3 separate regions of the Homo sapiens genome follow, and all the other regions are linked to region 2. Evidence: promoter capture Hi-C in 16 types of primary human blood cells and fetal thymus (Javierre and others, 2016). All regions are on one chromosome and are shown on one strand. Each heading gives the region's core, a stretch centred on a gene start or on the middle of the fragment in contact. The rest is flanking DNA. Distances are from core to core; before and after follow the strand shown.

Region 1 (4,307 bases), core at 1,209-3,708, 440 kb before region 2:
AGCTGTGGTCTGGGAAGGATATAGAAATGGGAGAACACAGTCTGTGCACAGTTCTGAGAATCAACAAAAAATTGTTGCTGGCAAGGTATAGGGGTTCTGGTTTAAATAATTACCCATAATGTCCACTAGGTGGCAATGTTGACTAGTTGTCTACAGCTTGGTTGCTGTCAGAGTAACTGAGATGGATGAAAAAGTTATTTGCGGGTTTGGACAAGGAATAACTTTTTTTTTTTTCTGTATGTTTCCTTTAGTGAGTTCTATATTCCTCATAAAAACTAACAATCCACACTGCCCATAAATTCGCTTAGGCAATATTGATTGCACTCTGTGCAAGTTTCTATTGAGAGAAGAAATGCTAAGTAGGAATGATTCTCACCCTCAGGGAATCTACAATCTAGTAGAGGAGACAGACATGTATAAAATAATATAATATAAATTATTGTATGAAAAGTACCAGAGGAGAAATAAAGTGGTCTTGGAGTCCATCAGACAAAGTAAGACTTTTTTACTAATCATGGAGGCTGTAATGGATGACAGATATTTGGAAGGCAGGCAACTGAGAATGTGTAATGAGGAGATAACATTATGGGCAAAGAGCAGTGAGAGCAAAGACATTGAGCTCAAAGGCAGCAGGACGTGTCTGTGAAGCAGTTCAGGTTGGCTGGATCGTGGGTTATTGGGGGATAAGCATCAGGGCAAGGATAGGAATGAAGGTTGTGATACCTGCTTTTCTCTTCCCCTTTCCATTTCATTTTGAGTGCAACTCTCTGGCAAGGATTTTTAGAATCTGCCTCATATCTTCCTTTTCACTACCTACTTTGCTGACTTCCAAGTTTTCCAGGTTTGCCTGGATTTTGTCTAAAGAATGCTATGTGGGGAGCTCCAGCTCTGTAAGAAGGTATCAAATTTAGCCTTAGTGAACAATACCAGGAAGAAAGCTTTCAACTCCCTCCTGCTCCCTGTCTTGTGAAAACAAATGATACTCCCTAGTCTCATTCTTCGCTTATCAGGTGGAACTGGGAAACCCTGGGAAAGAAAAATTTGGAGGCTCAGGACTATTTGTTCCAGGGAGAGAAATATACTCTAGCCTCCTAACCTGTCACCTTACCTCTAGGGACTGTTTCCACCATGGCCAACAGAGCGACCATTCCATGATCCCAATCAGACCGTGCAACTACCCCCTTAAAAATATGTGATGGCTCCCCGGGCCCTCAGCGGAGAGTCCAGATTTCTTATTATGGTGTTTGGGGTGCCTTCTTCACTGAGCCTGCAGTGATCTCAGGAGACTTCAGGAAGAGTAAGAAAAACAACAGATGGGTGCTCAGATCTGGGTTCCTAAGTCAACTTCATTGCCGTGTGAATCTCAGTTCTTCCACTGGGTCAATAGTACATAATTTCTTATGTGCTTCTTTACCTATGCTTCCCTGTCCCCCACCAGACTGCAAATGCTGTGAGAGCGGGCGCTGTCTTACTCATTGCTAGATCCTTAGAATCTAGCACAGTGCCCAAACACCTAGTAAATGGTAATAGTATTTGTGGAATGAGTCAGTGAAAACATACTCAAGGGTGTGTAAGGCCTGCCAGTTTTGGCTTCTATTAATGCATGTGTCCTGGGGGTCCCATTTGTCCTCTGGGATTGTCGTATTTGCTTATTTATTTGCAGGGGGAAATGAACTTGTGACCAGGCCTTCTGGAGACATGCTGCTGTGCTGCCCAGCCCCTGTGTGCTGCTGTGGATGTGTGGCTTCTCCTTGGCTCAGGGCCCCTCTCCCATGCTCCTTTGTGTGGGGTGATCCCCAGAGCCCTCTGATCGGGTGTCTGCCTGATGCTGGCTGCAATGAAAACCTCTCTTGTTCCACTTAGCACAATGTTGCCATTATAGCCCCTATCCAGGGAAATGACACACGTCTGCTGGCCCACCCTGGGCCCCGGAAAGCAGATAGAGATCTCAGTGGCTGTTTCTGGGAGAAAGAGAAAGAGTTTCATGGATGGATGAAAACTCCTTCTTCCCATGCGCCTTCAGGTTTCTGCTCCAGGGCACGGGGCTCCTACTTGCATGGAGGCAACAGGGCTCAGCTTCCACAGTTGTTAAAACCAAGCCCAGTGGTTGTGTCTGAAGGAAAAGGAGCTTTTGTTTTATGCTGAAATGCTGCATGAAGCTTACTCCATCCCTTTGGATTCTTCTCCTTAAGCGAGATCTTAGGCTCCTGAAGCGAGGCTCGTGCCCTGAAGCACCTACAGGGCCGGGCAGGGAAGGGTGTGCAGGAAGCAGGCCATGCAAGTGGAGGGGCCACAGCAAAGCGGAGCCCTCTTGCTCCGTCTGAGGGGCCAGTCACCAGTCAGCTTGGAAATGGAGTGGCCAATCTTCAGCTTTTTCAGCAGAACCCAGAAATCTAGATTTCAGTGAGAAATCTCTTTTGATTTAAAAGTGTTGGTAATGAATTCCAATTGTTTTAAACATTGCAGTAGCCAACTAAAACACCCCTGTGAACTTAATCTGGACTATAGCCACCCCCAGGCCCCAATGTGGAAACTTGAGGGAAATTAGGGACCCATGAAGACATCTGGAGGGTCTGTCCAGCTGGGGGCCTCCACGCTGAGGCCTGAGGAGGGTGTGCAGCTCCTAACACTGCAGCGTGGACTAACTCTCTTCTGAAGATCTGGGCTGCACGCCCCTAGCTTCATCTGTGGCTGCAGGCTGGTGCCAGGTTGCAGAGGTCCAAAGTGGATTTTATAACCTGGAGCTAGAAAAGCTTTAAAGCCCCCCAAAACCTGAGACATTAGCCCATCTGGTCCCTTCATTTGTCAGTTGGGGAAACTGAGGCTGAGAGAAGGGGAGAAATCTTACCTGAAATCACAGAAGGCCTTAGAGCCAGAACCAGGAGCAGTGATGCCCTGATATGAGGTCACCTGAGCCACTCTGTTCAGTGTGTGGGACACAGTGGTGAAGAGCATGACTTTAGGACAAGGTGGATCTGAGTGTTACCCAGCCCCGCCCCTGCACAGTCCAGGCACGATCTTCAACCGCTCTGAACCTCAGATTCCTCATCTAAAAATTGGGGCTACAAACATCTTCCCCACACAGCAGTTGTGATGCTTCAGTGTAACTGTGCATGTAGAGTGTGGAGTGGCTGATGCCATGCCAGCACATGGTACGTTTTCTTCAAATGCCAGCTGGCAGTATATTCAGGGAGGAGATTTTGTATGATATAGCCGAGTGCACGGGCTTTGGGTGAGGCATCTCTAAGATCAAGTGCAGGCTCTGCCACATACAGCTGTGAAACACTGGATGAGTTATTTATCAAGGGCCCAATTTCCTCATCTGTAAAATAAGGATGAAAGTAGTACCAGGGGGTTAAATGAGATCTGTAAGGTGCTTAGCACAGTGTCTGAGCCATGGTCAGAAGTGTTGGTTATTATGTAATCAGTGTGGGTTTCCTCTGAAGAATTCGTCAGATGTTTATGGAAAAATATTAAGGGATGCTGAAACCGTGGCCACATACCCAGGCTGCCCCCTGCAGGGAGTTTTATATAAATCCAACCCCTGGAAATGCAACTGATTCTGCCAGGTTCCTCCTTCCCTGAAGGAGCTCCCAGTGCTCCCGGATGGGAGGACTACCAGGCCTCCAAATGCTGCTACCCACGGAGTCTGCAAAGGAGTGGTGTTTTGTATGCACATTTAAAAACGTTACATAGTCCCATTATTTTGTTACAATGACAGATTGCTAGGGCCAGATGGACAATTTGTCCTGATCCAGGTGGGCAAGACCCTGTGCCTTAGGGAGGCAGTCACGCTTCTTTTGTATGACAAGGAATTCTGTATCCATAAGGAGGTTTTGGAAAACCAGAAGGCTCTAGGTCTGGGCCCTACAAACACTTTTCAGTGACAGACTGAGGCAAGCTTTTACCCTTCCTATGTGTTCCCTAGTGATTCATGTCACACTGCGCGCTTTGATCGGAGCACATGCCTGCACTGTTTAAATTGTGGTCATTCTCCCTCACACAGACAGCAAAGGAACACATTCGGGATTCCGCTGCCAATATTCATTCACTCTGGGAGCCAGGGTATCTGTCACAACTTCTTTGGTTGCAAGTGATAGAATCACAACTCCAACCAGCTTTAATGAAAAAGCTCAAAGGGTAGCTGAGTAGCTGAAGGGGCGAAGCTGGTTTGAAGCCAAGCTTGGATCCAGGAAGGCAAACTGAGCAGTCGCTCTTTTCTCTCCATCTCCCGGCTCTGCCCTCCTCTGTTTAGTCTTCATCTTCAGGCCGTCTGTTCCAATCTGTGGCAGAGAAGGCCACACAGC
Region 2 (4,285 bases), core at 1,209-3,708:
CTTATCCCTAAAATGCCAAGCCCTGATGCAGTACAAAGAGCTCCACTGTAACACATGGCCAAGACAGAAATATAAACAGTTTTGAAACAAGTAGAACTGGAAGGTGGGTGGTGGGTGCACGTGGAGAGAAAAAAACATATCCCCTTAACTCCGCTTCTGTGAGTCAGTGTTTCTGAGGTAACAACACAGAACAATAACCATAGGGAGAGTTGAGCTATACTAAGAGCAGGCAGAACTGATTTGGGGCACAAGTGTCAGGAGAGATGCAGCTTTGCAGCAGCAGACTCAAAGGCAAATGAAAGGGTTAAGCAATCTGTGCATGTCATTCTTGTATCATTCTACATTAAGTCATGGGCAGTAATTACAAGTAGTTACCTGCGGTTTCCAGTGGGGGAGGCAACAGCACTCCAGTCAAGGGGTTTTGGAGAAACAGGTGCAATGAAGGCATGGTCAAACAATTTATTTACTGTAAACTTTAGACTTTGCTCGGGAAAACAACTGAAGCTGCTCCTCAAATCCCTGCCTAAAATACCCCGTGTGAGCAAATAAGAGGAGTGGGGGAAGAGTCCATGTTCACAGCTGAAAGGTCCGAGATACTCAAAATCCTCAAGTCCAAGGGTGTAGGAAGGAAAATCTCCTTCAGATACAAATTACCAGCAGCAATATATTACCCCTAATACTTGAATAGTGAGGTAGATACATGGAAAAGTCATGAAAATATAGCAGACTCAGGTCCTCTAGGACTAAAGCTCTTTAGACATAAACTTACAAATTCCATGCAAAGAGGAACTGAACTGTACAAATAACAAATAATCACTCAAATAAGTTTTCTCTCTTTTTACAGCTTAAAAAAATAAAAAAGGCAGAAGGATGCCCTTCCTTCTGCATATCTCTATACAATTTTACAATTTTATTCTAAGTTTATTACCCTCAAGTTAAATAGTCTGTTTAGTGTTCTGTTGGGGGGGGGGGTCTTTAAAAGTAGAAAAACTGCTTTACAGCAGTGAGTCATTTGTACTACAATTCCTCCCTTGTGAATCAATGTTATCGCTAGGCACAGTACCTTGATGGCCCACAAAGTCTTCCGTGCCTGGGAGGTCTTCACACAGCAGTTTATTTTCTTTCTCCTGTTCCACGTGATATCCACTCTGCTCCCCTGTGTTGCCGTTGCTGGAGTAGCCATTCCCATAGGCCTTCAAAGAAGACCTGCGCAGGCACAGAAGCTCCTGGAAGGCAATCCTGAAATCTGGGCTCCGGCAGTAGATAAGGGGATTGAAACCAGAATTGACATAGCCTATCCAATTTAGGAGGATGTAAACTTCCTTACGGATGAGGTTATCCTGGATCACATGCACAATGTTAACGATGAAGAAGGGCAGCCAGCAGAGGGTGAAAGTGCCCATGATGATGCCTAACGTCTTGAGGGCTTTGTGCTCCTTCAAGCAGAACTTGGAAGATCTGCGGAGTCCATGCCCCGTCCGCCCATCCTGCTCCACCTGGCTAAGGTTCTGGACATGGAAGCGGCCCTCAGATTTGTCAATCTTCTGGAGCTGCCTTTTGGCCTCCTGAAAGACCCTGGAGTAGACGAAGACCATGATCACCAGGGGAACGTAGAAGGACACGATGGAAGAGGCAATGGCATAGGCTTGGTTCGTGAAGAAGTCACAGCAGGTCTCATTGGCATAGCAGTTGATGGCTTCCTGGTGGGTGGCCCGGTACCAGTGCATCTGAATGGGCAAGAAGGAGGTAAGGCCTGACACAATCCACACCATCAGAATGATCACCCGGGCCTTATTCTTGGTCAGCAGGCTCTGGTACTTGAAAGGTGAAGTAATGGCAAAGTAGCGATCCACTGCGATCACGCACAGGGTCTCAATGCTGGCCGTGACGCACAGCACATCAATGGAAGTCCAAAACTCGCACCAGAAGTTGCCAAAAGTCCACATTTTCATAAGAATATGGGCGGCCCCAAAGGGCACCACTGCCAGGCCCATGACCAGATCAGCACAGGCCAGTGAAGTGATGAAGTAGTTGGTGACCGTCTGCAGACGCTCGAACTTGGCAATGGCTGTGATGACCAGCACATTGCCAAACACGATGGCCAGGACGATGAGAGACATGACGATGCCCATGCCCACCACCCACACCTCGTCCCTTTCCTGCGTGACGTCGTGGTCCGGCGCATGGCTTCCATTGGGTGCCAGCAAGAAGGCGCTGCCGTTCCCGGGTTGCCCCATGGCGCGCAGTCTGGCAGGTGAGCGCACTGGCTGGGGGCGCCTCAGCGGGCGGACCCACGGCGGGGCTCTGCGGGCCGCGAGCGGACGCCTGGAAGCCTCATTCAGCGGCTGTGGTGTGGGTGTGGTGGGGACTCGTCCTGCACACTCAGCTTGTCGGGTGCTAGGGGCTCGCGGTGCCTGCCAGTTCCAGCCCGTGCTCTGAAGAAGCCGCTTCGCAGTGCGTTCTGCCCGTTATGTGCACAGGACTTTAGGGGAACTGCCCTCGCCGTGACGTACGGGAACTTTCGGCCAATGGCACGCCGGCAGCCGCGAAGGGGCGAGGCACTCCTCCCCTTTCCCTCCCCTCCCCTCGCCCTCCTTCTCCTGGGGCTGGCCCGGGCGGGGCCCAACTGCTCCCTGGAGGGCGGGCCACCACTGCTTCCCGGCTACCCTGGCTGGCCCCAGAGGGCTAAAGCTGGAGGTGGTGTCCTTACCAGCCAACCCGGGAGCTTTTGGCTCTTCTGTGGCCGCTACCTGCCTGCCCTGGGCGCCTGCGCGGCTTGAGGTCTCAAGGCAGAGGGCAGCACACCGGCACTGCCCCACATTCGGAAGGAAACGAGAGTGCCCACCGAGGCACGCACATACAGGCACAAATACACCCTGGCAGACATGCTCAGACTTATACCGAACCACAGCCATAGACACTGAGACACACCCTCCCAGCTCACCGACATGCACACTCGCGCGCGCTCTCACACAGAAGCCATCCGGCACAAAGTCACCCCTGTCCAACACAGAAACGCGGCCAGAAACAAACACAGAAGCACCCAGAAGCACAAAGACATGGTGACACACACAGAAAGTAAACACACGCTGGCTTGGAGGCATCCAGAGCGACACAGACACGGATGTCTCCATCTGGGTACTCCGAACTTGCCTCACCCGAGCACTGATAATGCTCCCCTCCCAACATACACCCGGTAACCCAGTGTATTCCCTTTCAAACATTTGGCAAGAGCACAGGAGGTGACTTCAACAGCTGCTGATTTCCTCAGCACACTCGCTGTCAAGTACTTTAGGTGCCCTCCTTAGGAATTTGCAGGCATGAAGACAGTTTTACCCTTTGGATTTTATCTGGAGCGGGGGTATGCAAGTATGTATTTTGGGACAGAGAGAGAAAGTTGTGTGCTTTTGTTTTAATTTTTTTGTTGTTTTGTTTTTAACTCTTGAGAGTGTGGCATCACTCACTCATTATCTGTTGAACTGGAGATGCAATGAGAATTCAAACAATTTCTTCAGTAAACCCAATGAAACTAAAAAAAATCCTTTCATCTGCTGGATAGTTTGTTAATCTTTCGGGTTGTGCCATGTGAAATTGCCACCATCTGGCGTCTGTGACTTACCAAAATGGCAAATTCATATGGTTCAGAGTATTAAGAATGTCTTAACATTAAGAACATTTTGAAGCTATAGAAAGCAAAAGATCCTGGCCAATATGGTGTAACTCTTGTCTCTACTAAAAATACAAAAATTAGCCAGGTGTGGTGGCACGTACCTGTAGTCCCAGCTACTCGGGAGGCTGAGACAGGAGAATCTCTTGAACCCGGGAGGTGAAGGTTGCAGTGAGCCGAGATCACGTCACTGCGCTCCAGCCTGGGTGACAGAACAAGACTCCATCTCAAAACAAAACAAAACAAAAAACACAAGATAATTCTCCCTTAAGAAAAAGAAAAAAGTAAGACCAAATCTCAAAAGTAAGATCTTTGTTCATGAAATACTATCCTTTCCATCTGGCATGTGACTTTACTGCTAAAGTGAAATTAATTTTCAGGGTTTGATTTCCCATGTATTAGTGGTGTCTTTGAAAAACTGAAAGTATTTCATGAAGTGTAACTAAACGTACTTTGTAGATTACATAATAACATAACAATGGTTAACATTTATGGACCATTCTGCTATTTGCTTTTCATGCATTATTCTATTTAATCCTTCCCACAGTCCCATGGGGGTGGGGACTATTTTTAGCTTAATTCACAAATGAGGTTCAAAGAGGAAAATGGCTTGCCCAG
Region 3 (4,189 bases), core at 937-3,436, 440 kb after region 2:
CTCTACTAGGCTAAGTAAATCTTCATCATTTCTTCTGCCTGTGTGTGTGTGTTCTGGTCTCTTCTTCCCTCACTGAAAGGTTATGTGCTATTTACTTCTTGAGGCTGTCAGCATGCTTGCCTCTCATCACACACACACACACACACACACACACACACACACACACACACACACCCCTCTTCTGTTGTTTCTAACCAGTACGGCCTGAGAAACCAGAGAAATCAATGTGTGTGGACTGGTATATGGGCTATGCTACCCTGAATTTGTGACATGTGTCTTAACTTCTCAGAAGCTTACTCCTATGTTGTCTATCACATTTTGGCTAAGAGGCCTCCGGAAAAATAAAGTTCATACTCAGAACTGCCCAAGCTAAAAGAAAAGCTATAAATAAACTCACCTGCTTCTGATTAACCACTGCCCACCTTTTCTTGTTTACTGCCCTGCCTCCTCCAAATGAATCTTTCCATCTTATGATAGCTCCTGAAACCTCTAAGGTTACATTGAACATGTAGTCAACAAATCCAATAGCCTCTTTCCAGTGCTTCCCCATCTGACCCATTTGTATTATGGGACACCGCTGACCACTCCTTTGAAACCCTCTCATCCTTTGGCTCCGAAAGTGATATTCTCGATTCTTGTCGTTCCTCTATGACCACTGCTCAGTCTCCTTTGCTAATTTATCCTCGAGCCCTCTTCTCCCTGGGCAATTGTACTCATTCCCAAGGATTTAGCTATTACAAATACACACACACACACACACACACACACACACACACACACAAAGAAAAGCAAAAAAAGAAAAAATTTCCAACTCTACTTCTTACCTCTCCTGAGCTCTGAACTTTATTTCCTCTGCCTATCAGAAATTTTCACCTCAATAACTTGAACATCCTTCAAAAACACTATGTTCAAAATGAACTCCTTCATATCACGAACCCTCCCCCTCCCCAAAACAAAGATACACAGATATATACAAATAAACACACCTATTTCCCTAATGTGTTTTACTGAATTCCTGAATTGTAAACCTTGAAATCATCCTAAATATATTCTGATTTCTCATTTCCCACAGACAATTGATGGGCTATTTTTATCAATTTTATCTCAATACAGTTCTTACATCCATTCCCATTACCTTTTGGGACTCCATTAACATTCACGTGCACTACGGAAATGGCTTCCTAAATGATACCCATCACTGTATCCTCAGGGTCGAGGAAAAGCTTAGCAGACACTATGCCTGCCATAAGTAATTTATTGAATAAATGCTTACCATGCTATACTCTATACTGAAGCCAGTTATCTTTTTAAAACAGTCTCCTGATTTATAGTGTTAAGTGAAAAAAGCAAAACACAGACTACATCTAAAGTATGATTCTAACAACAACATAATTTTAAAAATTAAAAAGATTACCCCCTAAAACTTTTTTTAAAAAGTATGATAAAAAAGACAAATATACTGTGTCTGCATACAACATTTTATGAAAGAAGACAACAAAATATTAACCGGTAACCTTTGAGGAGTGATAACAGAGGTTTAGGAAAGCAGAAAAAAACTTTTACTTTTCACTTCATATTATTCTCCATCATTTGAAATTTTCAGATTGTTTTTAAGAAGTACAATATACATGGCCAAGCAAAACAAAACAATCGGCCTACAAGGAATCCTGGTTCAGAGGATAAAATATTTCCAATCTAATCTCAAAACACCAGATGTTCCAATCTTATCTTCTTCCAATCCTTACCACTTGCTCTCAGTATACTCACTCTAGCAGACCAGTATCTTCTTAGTTCCCCCAAACAACCATTGGTGTTTCATTCCTAATATGCTTTTAACTCTGACTGGAAATGTCCTTCTTTTCCCTACTTTGCCTAGAAAACTGCCTGTAAAAATCTAGCTTAAATGTAAGTCCTCTGTAAAAGCTTCCCCTACTGACTCCTTCATTTGAGCTCCCTGTGGGACTTAACATATGCTTCCACAGCAGTTTGTGTAGTGATTTATTAGTCATGTTTCTGCTAAAAAATCTTGCCTCTAGGTGACAACAAGTCCTTGCTCACAATATATCCTCAAATATCTAATGTATGAATATCCACCAGTCTTTCCATTATTCTATATACATCCAGTAGCTTCGAGGCTGCTGCTAAAAACCATTTCATGCTCTTATGAGACGTTTGCTACCACAGCATTCAATGATCTCAGCAACAAACTTATAACCTAGACAATAATGCAATCAGATTTTACTGCAGTGACACACCTAACAGCTACTCTGTAGCATGTAAAAGCCTCAACAGGACGATTAACCAGCAAAGACTAATCCACCCACAAATTACCTAGATGCTCAGACCAATCCACCAGTTGTTATACTTTAGCACATGTTCAGCTTTAAGAATCTTGACAATCCTTCATCGAGATGATGCTCGATTCTTTATTCCTTTAATAAAAAGCTTTTTTTTAATCCCTTCTTCCTCCTTTTTCTTCCTCAAATTCACACCACCTAATAACACCTTCCTCTACTGATTCCACCTTTGATTGTTCCTTAGGATTCTGCAATGTGGTGCTTTTGTGTGAATTAGATTTAGTAGCCCTAGTGCACAAACTATACGTAAATTTTTAGACTAAATACCCTGCACCTTAAATATCATTGAGTTTATAAAACTCCACTTATTGAGAGTTAACAAATATTTACTCACAGAAATGATGTTATACAATATTATACTGAGGTTAGATCTCCAGGAAGCTGACAAAAACCTTCTTAACCTACAATATCCTTTAACACTAACTAGCAAAAAGCCTAAATTTTAAATTAGCAGGACTGACAAAATTTTAGGTAAAACTATTCCTGTTTCTTACATCACGGCTAGAATTGAAGACTTGGGTCTTTTAGTTCTTACCAGGCAGGTGAATAGTGAGGCCCCTACCCTAAGCCTATCGTGGGGAAGGAACTTGTGGAGATAAACACTAGGGTAAAAGAAAACATCTCTATCTTATATATAGGAGATTGACAGGACTTATAGCCTGGAGAAATCTAGCAGCCTTCTCAAGTCCAAGTAGATGTCTCTGAAAATGTTCAGGAGATAAAAAGCTTCCTCGGTCAAAAAATATTTTATTTTCCCCCACCCTTACTCAGTCTTGATAAAGGACAACAAAGTTGCTTCAGCTAAAGTTGGCTTCATCTTCATTTAAGTGAAATACCCAGCTGGGCTATGCTGAGTATTTCATCTCAGGTACTGATGAATAGGGACCTGGTTTCCCTATATGAGAAAGAACACTTGAAATTCACACACCACAAGTCCCAAGTAAGTGGTGATGGTACCTTTTTTTTTTTTTTTCTTTAAGACAGAGTCTCGCTGTGTTGCCCAGGCTGGAGTGCAATGGCGCGATCTTGGCTCACTGCAACTTCTGCCTCCTGGGTTGAAGAAATTCTCCCACCTCAGCCTCCCGAGTAACTGGGACTACAGGCGTATGCCACCACACCCGGCTAATTTTTGTATTTTTAGTAGAGACGGCATTTCACCATGTTGGCCAGACTGCTATCGAACTCCTGACCTCAAGTGACCCACCCGTCTCAGCCTCCCAAAGTGCTGGGATTACAGGCGTGAGCCACCACGCCCGGCCGGTATCCCTTTTTAATGTGCACCCTTTCTCTTATTTGCTTTTCTTTTTAGTTGGAAGAGGAACCAAAGAAAGTGAGGAGAAAACTGCCATCACTAGCCTTGTGTTTTTTTCTCACTCCTACCTCCAAAATACCACTTGCCACTAAACACCCTGCCTTCAACTCACTTGAGAAACTCAGTAATGCAGAGAACGTACAAAGCAGTAGTAGGTTAAAAAAGAAAGAGTAAAGGAGGGGAAAGTCCAGTTATCGGCATTAGAGAAAGATGACTTGGAGGAAGTCTTGCTGAGAAGTCATGGAGCATGAGGGACAGGTGAATACAGGTATACCTTAATTGTGATTCACTTTACTGTGCTTCAAAGATAATGTGTCTTTCACAAATTGAAGGTCTGTGGCAACACTGCGTCAGGCAAGTTTATTGGTGCCCTTTTTCCAGCAGCACATGCTCACTTCATGTCTGTGTGTCACATTTTGGTAATTCTCACAATATTTCATATCCTTTCATTATTATTATATGTGTTACGGTGATCTATGATCAGTGATTTTTGATGTTACTACTTTAATTGTTTTGGAGG

The links. The method cuts DNA at HindIII sites, captures the fragments that hold promoters and counts their contacts. A CHiCAGO score of 5 or more calls a contact.
Region 1: a fragment that was not itself captured here is called in contact with the fragment with the promoter of ADRB2 in region 2 in 3 of 17 cell types (non-activated CD4 T cells, naive CD4 T cells and total CD8 T cells); the score reaches 8.7 in non-activated CD4 T cells.
Region 3: a contact is called between a fragment that was not itself captured here and the fragment with the promoter of ADRB2 in region 2, in 1 of 17 cell types (naive B cells). The highest score is 5.0, in naive B cells.

Annotation. Positions count from the first base shown.
Region 1 is chr5:149,264,977-149,269,283 of GRCh38, reverse strand. No RefSeq gene overlaps it. Among named protein-coding and RNA genes, the nearest start is that of AFAP1L1, 4.7 kb to the left of the region's middle. The HindIII fragment of the contact is 594 bases long and covers 2,162-2,755 here.
Region 2 is chr5:148,824,784-148,829,068 of GRCh38, reverse strand. ADRB2 (adrenoceptor beta 2) reads right to left here and starts at 2,458. Exons shown (of 1, transcript NM_000024.6): 1 at 446-2,458. The coding sequence starts at 2,237. The coding sequence ends at 996. RefSeq lists enhancers at 1,558-2,143, 3,000-3,159 and silencers at 2,190-2,329, 2,420-2,729. The HindIII fragment of the contact is 9,818 bases long and covers 1-4,285 here.
Region 3 is chr5:148,389,174-148,393,362 of GRCh38, reverse strand. All of the region lies in intron 1 of FBXO38 (F-box protein 38), which reads right to left. Among named protein-coding and RNA genes, the nearest start is that of FBXO38, 7.3 kb to the right of the region's middle. The HindIII fragment of the contact is 522 bases long and covers 1,926-2,447 here.